Linked DNA regions of Homo sapiens: region 1 is linked to region 2. The links are contacts of gene promoters, found by promoter capture Hi-C in blood cells and fetal thymus (Javierre and others, 2016). All regions are on one chromosome and are shown on one strand. The core of a region is centred on a gene start or on the middle of the fragment in contact, and the rest is flanking DNA. Distances in the headings are between cores, read along the strand shown. Region 1 overlaps NKAIN1 (sodium/potassium transporting ATPase interacting 1). Region 2 holds the start of TINAGL1 (tubulointerstitial nephritis antigen like 1).

Evidence for each region. The method cuts DNA at HindIII sites, captures the fragments that hold promoters and counts their contacts. A CHiCAGO score of 5 or more calls a contact.
Region 1: a fragment that was not itself captured here is called in contact with the fragment with the promoter of TINAGL1 in region 2 in 1 of 17 cell types (M0 macrophages); the score reaches 5.1 in M0 macrophages.

The regions. Positions count from the first base shown.
Region 1 is chr1:31,201,847-31,204,853 of GRCh38, forward strand. The region is part of intron 1 of NKAIN1 (sodium/potassium transporting ATPase interacting 1); the gene reads right to left. Among named protein-coding and RNA genes, the nearest start is that of NKAIN1, 37 kb to the right of the region's middle. The HindIII fragment of the contact is 8,220 bases long and covers 1-3,007 here.
Region 2 is chr1:31,574,813-31,578,179 of GRCh38, forward strand. It overlaps TINAGL1 (tubulointerstitial nephritis antigen like 1), which reads left to right and starts at 1,703. Exons shown (of 12, transcript NM_022164.3): 1 at 1,703-1,783; 2 at 2,322-2,646. The coding sequence starts at 2,337. LOC105378626 (a long non-coding RNA gene) reads right to left here and starts at 3,085. Exons shown (of 6, transcript NR_188671.1): 1 at 3,032-3,085; 2 at 598-858. RefSeq lists an enhancer at 1,514-2,234. The HindIII fragment of the contact is 15,245 bases long and covers 1-3,367 here.

The DNA of each region.
Region 1 (3,007 bases), core at 152-2,651, 370 kb before region 2:
GTCTCACCCCTTATGGCACTGCTGGAGGTGCCTTCCACCCTGGAGGGGTAATCTTCCTCCTCCTCGGGACAGGTCCTGGACCCCCAATCCCCTGACTGCCATCTGCCTGTCTGCACGCCCTCCTGCTGCGGCCCAGCCCTCTACCTCCGCTGGGCCTGGGGAGCCAGGGAGCATCTGCTCACCTTCTGCATCATTAGCCCTCAGAGACCAGCTTGGAGCTGCTAGGGAGGCCCAGGATGCGACTGATTGGGCCAGCCCTGGTCTTGTCAGGAGGCAGCAGCAGGCTCCTGGCCTCTGTCTCCATGGTAACCCCATCCCCTCATCTCAGTGACCACTGACCCATCCCCACCCCTTCCCCAGCTGGGGGGCTCTGCAAGCCCCTTCTGGGCAGATCCAACCCACTGCACCTCTGAGCTGGCAACTCCATTAGAACAAAGTGCCTGGCAGTGATCTAATTAGCATATATCTACATTAATTTGCATAAATCCTGGGCCAAACGGCCCAGGGTGCTACCAAGGGGAAGTCTAAAAAAAAATCAGGCCGGGGACCAGGCAGGGTGGTTCATTCATCTCTGTATTCCCAGCACTTTGGGAGGCCGAGGTGGGCGGATCACGAGGTCAGGAGATCGAGACCATCCTGGCTAACACGGTGAAACCCCATCTCTACTAAAAACACAAAAAACTAGCCGGGTGTGGTGGTGGGCACCTGTAGTCCCAGCTACTCAGGAGGCTGAGGCAGGAGAATGGTGTGAACCCAGGAGGTGGAGCTTGCAGTGAGCTGAGATTGTGCCACCGCACTCCAGCCTGGGCGACAGAGGAGACTCTGTATAAAAAAAAAAAAAAAAAAATCAGGCTGTGCACAGTGGCTCACCCCTGTAATCCCAGCACTTTGGGAGGCCAAGGTGGGCGGATCACGAGGTCAAGAGATTGAGACCATCCTGGCCAACATGGTGAAATCCTGTCTCTACTAAAAATATAAAAATTAGCTGGGCGTGGTGGTGTGCGCCTGTAGTCCCAGCTACTCGGGAGGCTGAGGCAAGAGAATCATTTGAACCCAGGAGGTGGAGGTTGCAGTGAGCTGAGATCACACCACTGCACTCTAGCCTGGTGACAGAGCGAGATTCCGTCTTAAAAAAAAAAAAAAAAGGCCAGGGGCAGTGGCTCACGCGGGTAATCCCAGCACTTTGGGAAGCCAAGGTGGGCGGACTCCTGAGGTCAGGAGTTCGAGACCAGCCTGGCCAACATGGTGAAACCCATCTCTACAAAAAATACAAAAATTAGACAGGCATGGTGGCTGTAATCCCAGCTACTCGGGAGGCTGAGGCAGGAGAATCACTTGCACCCGGGAGGCAGAGGTTGCAGTAAGCCGAGATTGCGCCACTGCACTCTGGCCTAGGTGACAGAGCGAGATTCCATCTCAAAAAAATAAAAAATAAAATAAAATAAATAAAAAATAATGAAAACACTGTGGATGTCCCTCAGAAGGGGTCACAGTCAATGACAGTGCCTCCACACGATTCAACACAATGCAGCCATTATGATGGAGTGTGGGAAGAGGGCCAAGCTACCACGTTTGAAACGGCGCTGCAGAGCCACTTGAGTAGGACAACGCTGTTTTCACGCATAACAACAAAACAAAGAATCATCAAACTGTTAATTTGTTAACTCTAGGGAATGGGATTATGGGGGCCTTTGAGATTCAGCCAGATATATTTCTGCAAGGTTTTTACATCGAGGAGTAATTTTTTTTTTTTTTTGAGACGGAGTCTTGCTCTGTCACCCAGGCTGGAGTGCAGTGGCACCATCTTGGCTCACTGCAACCTCTGCTTCCCAGGTTCAAGCAATTCTCCTGCCTCAGCCTCCTGAGTAGCTGGGATTACAGGCACCCACCACCACGCCTGGCCAATTTCTGTATTTTTAGTAGAGATGGGGTTTCACTATGTTGGCCAGGCTAGTCTTGAACTCCTGACCTCAAGTGATTAGCCCGCCTCGGCCTTCCAAAATGCTGGGATTACAGGCGTGAGCCACTGCGCTCGGCCTATGAGTAATATTTTTATAAGTGAACAAACACATTCAAAGACAAAACTGATGGCGACAAATGAGCACACCCCCATGAGTCTGCCTGAGACTGTGGGTGACCCTGAGCTGAGGATGACCAACTGTCCCAGTGTGCCTGAGACCATGGGGTTTCTTAGAGCACAGCACTTTCAGGGACAAGTTCCAAAAGTCCTGGGCAAACTGGGACAAGCTGGTCACATGATATGGAGAGGGTATGGACAGCTTGGAGGCCTGGGGTGGCTCTGGATGAATGAAATGAGGGGTGGCAGGGTGGGGAAGAGATGTGGCTGGACCTTGGACCCAGGGCTTTATTCTGCTGGTCCCTAGGAGGCAGGGAAGGTCTGAGCATAGAGACATGGAAGCTGGGTGCTTTGGGTGCAGTGCTGTCTGGCTACAGGAGGAGGATGGACTGGAAGTGGGAGACCAGGAGGAGATGCTGAGGCCTTTCTTGGCAAGCTGAGACAGGGCCCAGAATCCTCCATGCCTGAGGTCCCACTCTCCCAGGACTCCCATCTTCTTGTCAATTCCTACTCTACTTCTGCCCATGTTCCCACGTCTAAACTACTGAGGCATCCCCAGTCCCATCTCCCAGATGCCGGGACCCCGGCAAGCTCTGGAGTGGGCAGCCAAGGCCTGGAAAGAAGGTGCCCTCCAAAGAGGAGCACTTAAGACAGGGGTGAAGGGGAAGACAATCCAGGAAGGGCAAGCTCAGCAAAAACAAGGCTCTCCCAGGAGACGCCGGCTGCAGATAAATGAACATTTGGATAAATAAAATGGTGATTAATCAGATTCCCCAACTAAGTACAATGAAGAACACCACATAATTAAGCCAAAAACTCATGGCAGAAAGCACCTTAATGAAGCGGGCACTTAGGTAGAGAGAATTAATTAAGGCAGTGTTCGGAATTTCAGGAGTGGCTAGAGGGATGGAAGTGATGGGGGGAAGGCCA
Region 2 (3,367 bases), core at 453-2,952:
ACTCAAGCAGAAGCAGAAACACCCCCACAAACACCGCAACTCAGATATACACATGCATACATGCACACAGAGATAACACACCCAGACTCACGAGGGTAGCCTATGCGGTGTGATTTTGGGCAAAAGAGAGGCCAGATGTCTCTAAACAAGCCCCCAGCCCCAGAACCATGAAAAAGTAGGTACCATAAAAGTAGGAACTCTGGACACGAACTCTTTTGAAAGAAAGCAGCTTTCATCTCTTACCCTGAGGATATGACATTTACCAATACCGAGGGGCCCGTCCTGCAGTAAGATGAATGGAGTTTAGATAAGAAAAGAGACTTCCCAACCAGGAGCACGTTGAGACCTGTAGTGGGTGACTAAGGGTGACTAGGGGTAAAGGAGTGGGCTGGTGGCAGGCAGGGAGCCTGTGTTCTGGCTGCACGACCTCAGGCAAGTGCATTCTTCTGAGCCTCAGTTTCCCACCTAGGCTTTGTCCTCCCAGGTCCCTGCAGGGAGCAGATGGGCAGCTCCTGGGTGTGTTAGTGCCAGTGCTGGGGCCCCCGGATATTATCCCTCCACCCCCACCACCAGGGCAGGACCCCCTTGGTGACTCACCACCCAGTGGTCCATGGCAGGGGTAACCCAGCCACAGGTGCCGGTGATCCTCGGCTCTCTCCCTTCCCCCAGGGTCTGGCCAGCTGAGGATGCCCCTTGGTTTGGGGGAGGTTTGCAGGGAGGTCAGTGGGAGGGCAAAGGGAGTCCCTGATGCCTTCCCCGGGGCCACATGTGAGGCTCAGGCCTGGGCCTGGGAGGGTTTGTCCAGGTGTAGTCTCTTTTATCCTCTTTGCTGGTAGAGACCTCTGGCCTGGGCCCAACCTGTTGAAGAGAGGGCGTTGCACAATAGGGAGGTAAAAGGTGACGGCAGACCTGGCGGGACAGAAGCCCCATTGTTTGGGTCCCAGGCCAGCCTGGGCAAAGAAAGGTTTATGCCTGCGGCAGGAAGGAGGGCCTCTGCAGGGGGTGCCAGCTGGTAGGGCCCTTGCCTTTGGACCCTTGGAGGGGGACAGGTGCCAAGCAGGATGCCCTTGGGTTTGCTAGAGAGGGCAGTGCTCGTCTAGGGGCCCAAGCAGGCAAGGGAAGGCAGACTCAACAAGGGATCAAAGGGTGCAGAGGCCACCCCCACACCCTGCCCACCTCCCAGGGATGAGCCGCCCAGGGCACCTAAGGATCATACTCCTGGAATTCCAATCATTCCTAGGAGCTGGGGTGGCTAGGGGGGCGGCACCCAAGCCTAGGGGGCACAGTGGAGAGGGGTGTGCATGGCTATTTTTATTACCGAGGGGTCAGGAGAGGCTTACAGAATTTTGCCTCACATGCCCTCCCCATCATTTCCCAAACTTGTGTCCATAACCCAGAGCTCGGCTGCCCATATCCCCCCTTCTCCACCAGAGCCCCTCAGCTCCACAGGGATGCCCACTGTGAAGTCCTTCCCAGTGTGAAACCGCAATCCTTCCTGCTTGGGGTTCCCCTAAGGGAACGGCTTCCGCCACAGGAGACCCAGCCAGGACAATCGTGTGCTTGTCGTTTCTCCACCCTGCAAGCCCATGAGTTGTGGGGTAGTTACTCCAGGTACAAGCCAGGCGCCCCTCCCTTCCGCCACTGCTGGGGCGGTGCAGAGGGCGGGCGGTACAAAAAGCGCCCCGCCCCGCGCTCCTCTCTTGACTTTGAGCGTCCGGCGGTCGCAGAGCCAGGAGGCGGAGGCGCGCGGGCCAGCCTGGGCCCCAGCCCACACCTTCACCAGGTAGGGACGCTCCCCTGCTCAGAGGGCGGAAGGTGTAGACAGAGAAGAAACAGGGGGAGGGGGCAGGTAGAGGAACCAAGACAGATGGCAGAGAGAGGGACAGTGGAGGGGGACAGAGGGACACAGGAACAGAAGAGAGGTGTACCCAAAAGACCGGGGGAGACAGGAAAGCACAAAGTCAAGGACCCAGGTCAGGGATGGAGGCTGCTGGAGGGCAGAGAGACCTAGGACAGGAGAGAAGACCTTGGGTCCACAGGATGAGTGTTGGGTGGGAGCACCAAGAATGCCACCACCCTCATTTCCTTGTCCTTGAAGGTCCCTGCCTAGGTCAGGGAGGGGCTCCGTTTCTGCCCAGTCCCCATCCCCCTATAGCCAGGGCCCACACACTGGGGCTCCTCTGCCCGTGTCCTGCCTGGGGACTCAGGAATCGGGATCTCCCTCCCTGCTGGGCCCTCTTGAACTCACAGCTCCAGGAAACTGGGAGACTCATCCCTGGTGTTCCAGGGAGTCTCTGCTGCCCACCATCTCTGCCCCCCAGGGCCCAGGAGCCACCATGTGGCGATGTCCACTGGGGCTACTGCTGTTGCTGCCGCTGGCTGGCCACTTGGCTCTGGGTGCCCAGCAGGGTCGTGGGCGCCGGGAGCTAGCACCGGGTCTGCACCTGCGGGGCATCCGGGACGCGGGAGGCCGGTACTGCCAGGAGCAGGACCTGTGCTGCCGCGGCCGTGCCGACGACTGTGCCCTGCCCTACCTGGGCGCCATCTGTTACTGTGACCTCTTCTGCAACCGCACGGTCTCCGACTGCTGCCCTGACTTCTGGGACTTCTGCCTCGGCGTGCCACCCCCTTTTCCCCCGATCCAAGGTGGGCACTAAGATGGCCAGGAGGGTGGGTCACTTTGTCCACCTCAGACTCAGCAAGGCTCAAGAGCAAAGCTGATGGATGCACTGACATTTCCAGGGGAAGCTCTGTAGAATCTGGGACTCTTCCCTGCCCCTCTGGGAACTTTACTCTCCAGCAAGACTGAAGAAGCTCCTTGGTTAGAATTCTAATTTGGCCCAGGGAAAGGGCAACCTCCCACATTTTCTCCCAATCCTGTCTCTTTTCCAGACACGGAAGGTGCTGGCCGCACCTGCTGACTCACTCTTGGGCTGATAAGGCACATATGGGTTGGTGAGGGTCATCTTAGCCATTTTTCTGCCTTTGCTGAGGATTCTAGGATCCTGTGCCCCGAGATGGCTGCTCATACCTGGGAGATGGGTCAAATCTTTTCCTGCTTTCAGCCTCACCATCATCCTTTTCCATGCACTTGCCCCTGTCCAATAGGAGAATCACTTGCGTTCCTTCCCACAGTTCCATGGGGCTTGGGCCGGCAGACTGCATACCTGAGCTGTCATCTCAAGAGTGCTGTGTTATCTTAGGACGGTTGCTTACCTTCTCTGGGCCTTGGCTTCCCCATGCTCCTCCCACTCCCCATCTCCAAGCCCTAACTTATTTAAATGGAAAAGGATCCCAGGAATGTTGTGGCTGGCATCCAAGTAAAGTAAGAGGAATCCAGGTTGGAATCATTGAAGAACTTCCCAAA